3 separate regions of the Homo sapiens genome follow, and all the other regions are linked to region 1. The links are contacts of gene promoters, found by promoter capture Hi-C in blood cells and fetal thymus (Javierre and others, 2016). All regions are on one chromosome and are shown on one strand. The core of a region is centred on a gene start or on the middle of the fragment in contact, and the rest is flanking DNA. Distances in the headings are between cores, read along the strand shown. Region 1 holds the start of CPA3 (carboxypeptidase A3). Region 2 overlaps LINC02046 (long intergenic non-protein coding RNA 2046). Region 3 overlaps TM4SF18-AS1 (TM4SF18 antisense RNA 1).

What was found. Contacts are between HindIII fragments. The CHiCAGO score rates a contact against its expected background, and 5 or more counts as called.
Region 2: a contact is called between a fragment that was not itself captured here and the fragment with the promoter of CPA3 in region 1, in 1 of 17 cell types (endothelial precursors). The highest score is 5.4, in endothelial precursors.
Region 3: a contact is called between a fragment that was not itself captured here and the fragment with the promoter of CPA3 in region 1, in 1 of 17 cell types (total CD4 T cells). The highest score is 5.5, in total CD4 T cells.

Annotation. Positions count from the first base shown.
Region 1 is chr3:148,863,588-148,867,369 of GRCh38, forward strand. It overlaps CPA3 (carboxypeptidase A3), which reads left to right and starts at 1,709. Exons shown (of 11, transcript NM_001870.4): 1 at 1,709-1,788; 2 at 1,886-1,961. The coding sequence starts at 1,721. The HindIII fragment of the contact is 2,592 bases long and covers 1-2,174 here.
Region 2 is chr3:148,381,841-148,385,622 of GRCh38, forward strand. All of the region lies in intron 4 of LINC02046 (long intergenic non-protein coding RNA 2046), which reads left to right. LOC105374147 (a long non-coding RNA gene) reads right to left here. Exons shown (of 4, transcript XR_924566.2): 4 at 2,002-3,029. Among named protein-coding and RNA genes, the nearest start is that of LINC02046, 100 kb to the left of the region's middle. The HindIII fragment of the contact is 3,753 bases long and covers 152-3,782 here.
Region 3 is chr3:149,290,789-149,294,570 of GRCh38, forward strand. The region is part of intron 1 of TM4SF18-AS1 (TM4SF18 antisense RNA 1); the gene reads left to right. Among named protein-coding and RNA genes, the nearest start is that of TM4SF18-AS1, 7.9 kb to the left of the region's middle. The HindIII fragment of the contact is 1,034 bases long and covers 1,605-2,638 here.

The DNA of each region.
Region 1 (3,782 bases), core at 459-2,958:
TCCTGTCTCACTAAGCCTCACAGCCACTTGTTAGAGTCACATTAGCATTCCCATTTTACAAATGAGGAAACCAAGGCCCAGAATAACTAGGCAGCCTGCTCAAGGGGATGTAGCTAGCGTGTGGGAGCCACATTGAAGTGATGTCTGTCGAAACCCAAAGTCAAGGTCTTTCTTTTTCACTGTTCCCTGGTCAAAAGTATCTTTAGTCAAAAGCAATGGAGCAAGCATTTGCTTTGGGAGTTCTCAGTGCTGGTGAGCTTGCCCAGTGTCAAGAACATGAAGGCATTTGTAAAACCCTCCTCTTCCTTACCTGCAAGGCTGGAGCCGGAAAATCCATTTGGGGAAATAAAAAAAAGTCCCGAGTTCTACCACACACCCATCAGATAGAGAAGAATGGAATTACTGCTGCTGTATATATAACAGGGGCGTGTCTCCAACCACACTATTTTGATAGTACATAAGCGTGACTCTGAGAAGTTTTATCTACAGTCAGCTATACGTTTGTCAATGTGAAGAGGTGGTTTTCAAAAAGGAAATTCTAATAAGTTAACTGATTAGATAAATTCACTTACTCTTTTAGGTTACCTATGATTCTAGGTAAAGGTGTTATTCTCCCATAATTAACCAAGTTGTGTTCAAGACTAAACATCCCTCCAGAGATGGTTGTGAATGGTCTATAGGTGGCTTTCATTAATTCAACTCTCAAAAGGCATTATTTGGCAATTACAGCATCCAGGCTCTGAAGACAGTGTCCAATTAATAAACATTACAGCATTGATATTTTCTTGCTGTCAGGTAGTTCTCAAGTTGCCTTAGAAATAGGGGTCACCTCTGAGGACAGAGAGAAGAGAAGGGCAAAGAGTTAGGGCAGTGCTTTAGGTCTTTAGTGTTTATTTCTTTACCCAGAGAAGTACAGGAAAAATATAACAAAAATGTTATCATTGTAAAATCTAAATGGTGAACATTTCAATGTTCGCCATAGTACTTACAGCATTTTTAGTACATTTATATTTTGTAATTTAAATTTTTGGGGTTTTTTTTGCCTCCCAAGTAGCTGGGATTAAGGCACCTGCCGCCACGCCCGGCTAATTTTTGTATTTTTTAGTAGAGACAGGGTTTCACCACGTTGGCCAGGCTGGTCTTGAACTCCTGACCTCAGATGATCCACCCGCCGCGGCCTCCCAAACTGCTGGGATTACAGGCGTGAGCCACCGTGCCCAGTCAATTTAAATGTTTTTAATTTCACAACTTACATTCTAGCTTCAAAAATATATTTTACATTATTACGAACCACTCACCAAGATTTTATGGCCAGATACCCAAATTCATCTCAGTCTCCAAGTGCAAATTTTAAAACTAATTTCTTCCATCATTCAATTCAAGCAGAATGGTAGAGTAGTATTTTAGAACAGATAGAACTAGTAAATCCCAGCTCTGTGAACATACTTTCTCTGTTACCTTGGCCAAGTTATTTGCTAAAGGCATTTGCTTCCCATCCTGTATCTGTAAAATGGGTATTTCCTATTGCAAAAGGTAGATAAGTAGCATGTGCTTGGTGGGTTAGTGTTTTTCCCTCTCCAGCTGGAAAAAAAAAACCTGGTGTGGGGGAAGAAGGGGAACAGTTTGTGCAACAGAACCCTAAGAGGAAATCAGCTGCTCATCAAGATAAGGGCTGAGGCATAAAACTGCCAGAGGGTCTCAAGGCAGGCAAAGAAGAACCATGAGGCTCATCCTGCCTGTGGGTTTGATTGCTACCACTCTTGCAATTGCTCCTGTCCGCTTTGACAGGTAAATCTTACTTCCTGTGTTCCAGTCTCTGTGTAGAAGAGAATTAAAGGTTGTTTCCTTACAGTTCACTTTTTTTTTTTCATTTGCCTCCACAAAGGGAGAAGGTGTTCCGCGTGAAGCCCCAGGATGAAAAACAAGCAGACATCATAAAGGACTTGGCCAAAACCAATGAGGTAAGCATTTAGAGGGATATTTTATCTTTTCTTACTGTTCTCTAAAAGATGCTTCTTCTTATTTTACTGTCAATGCCCATGGGACTACAAAAGACTATTGAACATAAGGGGAAAGCAGGAGCTATCTGGATAATTCAGCCAATGGCCAATACTTCACCTGTTCTGGTTTTGGTCTTGGTTTCCAAGACTACCACTTCTGTTTTTCCTCCCAAAAGCTTTTCAAACACCAGCTTTTTCAAGGTAAAACTATGAAATCAGGAGCTGTTCTTGGCCTCCTTATCAGGGCATCTTTCTCTTGCCTACGGGTGCCATTCCCTCTCCATTCTCCCCACTCCGACCCTCATCTCCTCTGGTGCCATAATTTCTCTTGAGTACTAACTGAAAACGTTGAGGCACTGGCTAATATCAAGATGTGACCCTTTCCAAGAGCAGGTACATTTTCAAATAAGACTTTTAAAGTTAGATCAATCCTTTAAAATCCAACAGCCTAATATAATTTTATCATGTATTCAGCTGCTCCTATTTATGTTGCACCAGCCACCTTATATATGCCATTTCAAATTCTCCAGCAGATTCTCAATGTCAGGGTTATAATGTAACTCATTTGAAACAGAAGAGCTAAAGTGCAAAGACAATAAATTAAATGACCAAGATTACACATCAAATTTAAACCCAGAACTGGGTCTGGGATTTATTCCAGTCAAACATACAGTTACCTCTACATCAAATCAATCAAAGGCCCTGCCTATTCTAACTCCCAAATGTTTCTCAAATCCACACATTGCCCTCCATTCCACTGCCACTGCCAAGTTCATGTTCACTCTACCTCTTGCAAGGAGAATTTCCATAGTCCCTTAACTAGCAATCAGGGCTCTAGTCTTGACTCCCACAAAGCCAACTCTGCATTGCAACCTGATTGCTCACTCTAAAACTTGACAATTGCATTCCTCCGTTTGAGGGTCATTACTAAGAAGCAGCCTAGTACGGAAAAAGCATTTTCTTCAAAGTCAAACGCTTACATTCAAATCCAAGCTCTACGCTAGCTCTGTAGCCTTAGGCAACTTACTCAACATCTCTGGGTCTCAATTTCTTCTGCTATAAAATGGGGATAATAGTCATAGCTACTTCCTAGGGTTGCTACAAAGACTAAGTAAGCGTTTGATAGCACTTAGAAGCAGGCCTGCCATATTAAGCACCATAGAAGCGTTTTTTGTTTGTTATTGTTTTTGTTTTGAGACAGAGTCTCACTCTGTCACCCAGGCTGGAGTGCAGTGGCACAATCTCTGCAGCCTCCGACTCCCAGGTTCAAGCGATTCACCTGCCTCAGCCTCCCTATTAGCTGGGATTACAGGTGCCCACCACCATCCCCGGCTAATTTTTGTGTTTTTAGTGAAGACGGGGTTTTGCCATGTTGCCCAGCTGGTCTCAAACTCCTGACCTCAAGTGATCCACCCGCCTCAGCCTCCCAAAATGCTGGGATTACAGGCATGAGCCACCATGCCCAGTCAGAAGCATTTTCTTTTGGTATTGGTATAGCATTCAAAGCGTTTTATGATCTGCCAAACTACCAGCCTCTTCAATATCCTGCTCCTCCACCTTCTTCCACACCCTTCAAGCCCCATAAACACCAAAATCTCACCCACCTTGGCCCTGTACATCTTTTCTCATGAAAATGTGTTTCTCTCCCTTTTGACCTGGGTAAGTCCTACTTATTTCTCAAGATCCAACTCAGGCAGTGTCTCCTGCAGGACGTCTCTTCTGTTCATCAACTCTCGTGACTCAGTTTTGGCTGCTCCTTGTGCTCCTGGAATACCCGGTTCC
Region 2 (3,782 bases), core at 778-3,277, 480 kb before region 1:
CAGGTTATGGTCAGAGAAAATTCAGCTCCCTTTGTTATGCTATTTAAGTAATCGTTAAGTACATTACTAATATCCATGGCCATTTTTAAAACCAAGTAGCAATAACTAGTTTATCTCACTAAAGCACCAAGATCCTTAGGAACCAGAAAGAAGCTTTTCAGCATCACATCCAATATGCCCCTAATACTTAGTAAAGGCTGATATGATGATGCAGATCTTTTGATCACTTTTGGGATTAAGATCCAAGTTATGTTACTAAATCCCAATTCAATAAGGCAGTGCGGAAGATGCTGACCTAGCAGGGTCTTTATAACTGAAAGCCAGTGTTTGGTTTTATTGACAGAACTTTGTGCTAAAGACATGGAGTTTCCCAGCTACTTCAGGGTTATCCCAGTTACCTGTTCTCTCTCCACCTCCCACAGACTATATTGTGATAATCTCTAGAATTATCCCCAAAAGGAAGAAATAAAACATCTGCTTGGTGTATTCCTTATCAATCTTTATTCTATACTTCTCTTTCTGGATTCTCCATGATTCAGAGCACCTCCAGCCATATTCCAGCTGTGTGGTGCAAAGGACCCAGGCATTGTTTTAAAAATTCTTGAATCATAATGAACTAATAAGGTCCTCAATATAGCATATTTCTCTCATTGTTTAGGTGAGTTAAATTATTTGTAAGTTACAAAAGCCATGCATCTTTCTTGTTTTACTCCAAACATCATATTGGCACTTCATAATAGAAAAATTGAAAGTTGGCTATGTGGTAATATACTTTTTATCATAGACTTGTGTAATACTGTATTAATATATAACAAGTCCATGTAACATCTTTATTTTGTCTAAGAAATAAGTCTAGAGAAATGAGTGATTTATTTTTATAGAAACTGCATCCAAGAACTGCAGAGTTTTCAGCCCCAGAAACAAGAAAACAAGAACCTTATCAAGATATGGGTGCTGTAATGGGCTAGATTTTTCTTTAAAAAGAAAGAAAAAAGGAATAGGGAAGGTGTACGCAGTCTTGCAAATGAGGCAAGAACTGTTCTACAGAGTCAGGAGAGAGTCGAAATAAGGATGCCTGATGCTGAGTTGCAGAATCATTAGACTGTTACTCCTTATCTTCTTTCTGCCTGTGAATAATTTCAATGACCAGTACGTAGTAATGACATTGCGTATGTATACATGATAATATATTATGCAGTAATTTAAAATATGTTGGAAGTGTTGTGCCATTGGAAAAATTGCTGAAGGGGTAATGTTATAAAAAAGGCTTAGTGCAAGAAAATAAGATAGGTGATATAATATCAACTATATGAAACGTTTAGATAAGTAACAAAACTAGAAGAAAATATGTCAAAATGTTAAGAGAGGTTAGGATTTTAGGTAGTAACTTAAGGCCCTATATGTCTGGCCACCTGTAATTCTCTGAGATCATCTTTTACTATTGCTTCACTCCCCATCCCCCACAACAGTATCCTGCTCCAGCCACAGTACTGTTCTTCTTCTTATTGTTATTAAGTTCTGCGGTACATGTGCAAAACGTGCAGTTTTGTTCCATAGGTATACACGTGCCATGGTGGTTTGCTGCACCCATCAACCTGTCATCTACACTAGGTATTTCTCCTAATGTTATCCCTCCCCCAGCTCCCCACCATCTGACAGGCCCCGGTGTGTGATGTTCCCCTCCCTATGTCCATGTGTTCTCATTGTTCAACTCCCACTTATAAGTGAGAAGATGTGGTGCTTGGTTTTCTGTTCTTGTAATAGTTTGCTGAGAATGATGGTTTCCAGCTTCATCCACGTCCCTGCAAAAGACATGAACTCATTCTTTTTTATGGCTGCATAGTATTCCATGGTGTATATGTGCCATGTTTTCTTTATCCAATCTATTATTAATGAGCATTTGGGTTGGTTCCAAGTCTTTGCTATTATCAATAGTGCCACAATAAATGCTATATAAAATTACATCCACACTTTATTTTTCTCCATAGCTGTTACCATTACCTGACATAACTTACCAACGTAGGGATTGCTTTTTGCTAGTATTTCCCAAGAAAACAGAATGATTGCTTAGAAAGGGAGAGAAGAGGAAGCTGAGGGTGTATGTTAGAAAGTGATGGAATTTAGGCTAATAAGAAAGGAAAGAAGAATATTTGGGAGAGGCAGAGATGTCAGGCAGAACAATCACTGGATTATACATCACAAAAATTTTGAGGATCAGGGAACCAGGATAAATAAGCCTGGAAAAATAAGAAGTACTAGTCAAGAATGTTGTTGTTTGTTTTGTTTTGTTTTGTTTGCTTTGGAAGTGAGAATTGTGGAGGGATTGCAACTACTGTCTGGTGTCATTTCCTTACCTTTATAGACACCCTGCCTAATGGGTTTTGGACTGAATTATTCAGGAGGGGAAAAGAAAAAAAGGGGTAGAGGATATTCCACTCTTACTATTTTGATGTATATAATTAGCAGGCTCTGTCTAGATAAGTATGCACCTATAGTAACTTCCTTTTGAAAAAATAAAAATCAGATCTAATGGAACATTTGCAAACTGCTTTTCTTGCACTCAGTAATGTGTCATGGACATTATTTCATGTTAAAAAATATAGATATATATTTTTAAAACTATATAATATTTCACTACTTGTAGAGACCATAATATAGTTAACCAGTAACTGATTGTTGAGCATTCATATTGTTTTTCTCACACTTTAATAGACAAAGTAAAATCTGTATATACTTGATTTCTATTTTGCATACTTGTTGCTATGGGTTTGAATATATTACCTCCAAAATCAGGTGTTGCCAATGTGAAAGTATTAAGAGGTAGAGTCTGTAAGAGGTGATTAGGTCATGAGGGTTCGTCCCTCATGAATGGGATTAAGACCCTTTTAAAGGATCTTTGCAGAGTGCTTGGTAGCTTACCCTTCCACCTTCCACCAGATGAGGACACAATGTTTCTTCCATCTGGAGAATGCAACTCTCACCAGTCGAACCTGCCACCATCTTGATCTTACACTTCCCAGCATCCAGAACTGTGAGAAATGAATTTTTGTTTTTTATAAACTACCCAGTTTGTGACAGTCTGTTATAATAGCACAAAACAGACTAAGACACATGTTTACATCCTTTGGGTAAACTTTTAGGAGTGGAATTATATAGCAAAAGACCATTAGATTTTAAATGTTGATATTAATTTACTGAACAAGCATTTATTAAGAATTTGCAATGTTTCTCAGGCACTATTGTAGTCTTTTTGAATATGGCAATAATCAAAACAGAAAAGAATGGCAGCTTTTATGAAGCTAATGTACTGGTACAAATATAGTTGAGATGATTCAATCAACTTATATTTCCACCAACACTGTATCAAAGTATCCATTTCCTCTTATCTTCACTAACTTCACTGGCTATTTCAAAACTTTAATACTTTTGGCTAATCAATTTTTTTCTTATTTTAATTGTTTCAATAATTTGCACTATTTGATTACTAGAAAAGTTAGACATGTGATAGGCTTATTAGTCATTGTATTTCTACTTCTACATTACATTTTTGTGCTGTTTGCTCTTTTTTTCCCTATTTGGTTATTTTTTCCTTATTTGATTTACAAAAGGTTTTCAAATGAAAAGAAATATAAACTTCTTAGTAGAGAATAATTGTTCAGGCTGCCGAAAAAATAAATATCCTTTCTAATATGAGAGAATTCCATGCTGCCTCCCACTCAGGAAGCCAAATAAGACATGCCATTTTCTCTCTCCAACCTAGTATAGCAAGTACATTGGAGTCA
Region 3 (3,782 bases), core at 872-3,371, 430 kb after region 1:
GGCTTCAATAGCCACCATGCAAGCCCACAAACCCCAGAATTCCCAGGGTGCACCTGTTAACTGCTACAGATGTGGCAAGCCAGGGCATTTCAAGAAGGATTACCCAGGCAGCACGAGGAAGCCACCTCAACCCTGTCCAATCTGCAATGGGGACCATTGGAGGGTGGACTGTCCCTGGGGATGCTGGTCACCAGGTTCAGAACCAATCTACATGATCCAGCAGCAGGACTGATGGGTCCTGGGTCTCCTTTCCCTGGCTCCAGTGGTCCAGACCATCATTACCATCCAGGAGCCCCAGGTAATTCTGGAAATTGAAGGGAGGAAATTTTTGGACACCAGGGCTGGTCTCTTGAGTTCTCCCCTCCAGTCCTGGGCCCTTCTGCTCTCTTAGCACAATCATGAAGTGTGTCTCAGGGAGGACTTTAACCCGATATTATCCCCAACCCCTTAGTTGTAGCTGGGGAGACATTTTGTTCACCCATGCTTTTCTAATTATGCCTGAAAGCCAAACTCCTCTGTTGGGCAGGGATATTCTGGCCTGTATAGGGACCACCATCCTGATGGCCCCTGGGCAAACTCGTTGTCTCCCCCTAGTGGAGACTGATATTAACTCAGAAGTTTGGGCAACTTGAAGGAAGATTGGCTGAGCCACACCTGACATATTGGTCTGGGTTCATCTTAAAGATCCCACCTCCTTTCCTAACCAGAAACAATATTCCCTGAAACCAGAAGTTAGGAAAGGACTAGAAGCCATCATTGATGACTTGAAGATGTAGAGCCTCCTCAAACCCTGCAACAGCTCTTGTAATACCCCAATATTGGGGGTACAAAAACCCAACAAGGATGAAGACTAGTTCAGGACCTCCACCTTGTTAATGAGGCTGTGGTTCCAATACATCCAGTGGTTACCAATCCATATACCCCACTAATTCAAATACCTGAGGGGACTAAATGGTTCACAGTTCTGGAACTAAAGGATACCTTCTTCTGCACACCTTTACACACTGACTCCTAGTGTTTGTTTGCATTTAAGGATCCCTCTAACCAAACCACCCAGAACACTGTTACCTCAGGGGTTCCGAGACAGCCCCACCTTGTTTGGCCAGGCATTATTGAGAGACCTCTCTGAATTCCTTTATCCTCAGGTTAAAGTTTTACAATACATGGATGACCTTCTCTGCGCTCCAACTGAGGAAATCTCTTAGGAGGGCAGTAAGGCCCTTCTTAACTTTCTGACTAACAGAGGATATAAGGTTTCAAAATCTAATGCTCAGGTATCTCAGACTTCAGTGAAATACCTAGGTCTGGCTTTGTCAGAGAGGGCCAGGGCATTGGACAAAGAGAGGATTAAGCCCATCTCCTCCTTTCCCTTCCCTAAAACCCTCAAGAAACTGAGGGAATTCTTACACATTACAGGATTCTGCAGACCATGGATACCTGGGTACAGTGAAATAGCTTGTCCCTATTTCACCTAATAAAGGAGACTCAGACAGCTAAATCTCACTGTCTAATTTGGGAACCAGAGGCTAAAAAGGCCTTTGACCAACTAAAACAAGCCTTGCTTAAGGCACCAGCCCTAAGTCTCCCCATAGGGAAAACATTTAAGCTTTATGTATCAGAGAAAAGTAATGGCACTGGGAGTTCTAACACAGACCTGGAGTTCAGCCCAGCAGCATGTAGGCTACCTGAGTAAGGAGCTTGATTTGGTAGCCACATGATGGCTAGCCTGACTCTGGGCATTCACAGCAATAGCCTTGCTGGTACCAGAGGCTAATAAGTTAACCACGGGGAATAACTTAACCGTTTATATCCCACATAATGTGGCAGGACTACTGTCTTCTAAGGGGAGTCTCTGGCTAACAGAAAACCACCTCCTCAGATACCAAGCTCTGTTATTAGAAAGTTCTGCAGTCCTTCTAATTAAGAACCTGTCCCTAAATCCAGCCACCTTCCTCCAAGAGGAATCCAGGGAACTTGAACATGACTGCTAGCAAATAGTAGTACAAACCTATGCAGCCAGAGAGAACCTCAAGGAAACCCCCTTAGATAACCCAGACTGGATTCCGTTTATGGACGGAAGTTTTTTTTGTAGAAAAAGGAACTCACAGAGCAGGGTATGCAATAGTTACTCTGAATGATGTTGTTGAGAGTGCACCTCTCTCCTTGGGCACAAATGGTCAGCTAGTTGAACTAATCACCCTCACGAGGGTGCTCGAATTAAGCAAAGGAAAAACGTTAACTTTTATATTGATTCTAAGTATGCTTTCCTGGTCCTCGATGCCCATACCACTATCTGGAAAGAGGAACTTCCTCATAGCTAATGGGTCTCCTATTAAATATAATCAGAAAATTAATAGACTATTATCCTCAGTTTTCCTCCCACAGGAAGTGGCAATAATACATTGTAAAGACTGCCAAAGAGGGACAGATGAAATAGTTGAGGGAAATAGGCTGGCAGACCAAGCAGTTTAATCAGCAGCAAGTGGGCCCCAGGTCTCTGACCCATTTGAAGTCCCACTGATCTGGGAGTGCCCCGTGATAGAAATAAAACCTCAATATTCTCTTGTGGAAATAGAATGGGCCACCTCTTAGGGATACATCCTGCAGTCCTCAGGATGGCTATAATCAGAGGATAGTAAGCTTCATCCACCAGCTGCCAACCCATGGAAAGTTCTTAAAAGCCTTCACCAGGCCTTCCACCTAGGTAAGGATAAAACCTATCAACTGGCCCAGAGATTATTCTCAGGTAAAAACCTGATACAAATGGTTCAACAGGTCATTAATACTTGCAAGACCTGCCTTGAAAACAATCCCCTTAATTGACAGCTTATTCTCCCAGGAACCCAAAGGATAGGAGGCTACCCAGGGGAAAACTGGCAAATGGATTCACCCATATGCCAAAGGAAAGGTACATGCAGTACCTCCTATTATGAATAGATACTTTCACTAACTGGGTAGAAACATTTCCATGTCAGACAAAGAAAGCCTCTGAGGTAATAAAATTACTGATCAGTGAGATAATTCCTTGTTTTGGACTTCCTAAATACCTCCAGAGCAATGATAGCCCCTCATTCAAGGCAGCTGTCACTCAGGGGGGTCTCAAAAGCACTAGGTATACAGTACCATCTTCATTGTGCCTGGAGACCACAATCCTCAGGAAAGATAGAAAAGACAAATGATATTATCAAAAGGTACCTCGGGAAACTGTCTCAGGAGACTCATCTCCCCTGGCCTACCCTTTTCCCCATAGCCCCTGTTAAGTATTAGAAATACTCCTTCAAAGCTAAGTTTCAGTCCCTTTGAAATGATGTATGGTTGGTCTTTTCTCACCAATGATTTCTTGTTAGACCAAGTAACCTCTGATTTAATTAGGCACATAATATATTTGGTCCATTTCCAATAGGAACTGAAACAACTGTCGGAGGCCCAGTTCTGTGTACCAGGGCCACCTCTATGCAACCCAGGGGACCTAGTGCTAGTAAAGGTACTTCCGTCCCTTTCTCCTTCTATAGGCCCAGGTTAGGAGGGACTCTACATTGTACTTCTTTCTACTCCTACGGCAGTGAAGGTCACTGGAATAGACTCTTGGATTCATTGCACCCGAGTAAAGGCCTGGGAAGCCAGTGGAGTCACCTCTGTTGACCCAGGAGGGCACTCAAAGTACCAATGTGAAGAGATCGGGGGCCTCAAGCTAAAAATCACAAAAGATAAATGGCAATAACTAACCTTCCATGGATATCCTCCTTACAGTCTTGTCTATGCCTGCTGTTCTTACCCTTGTT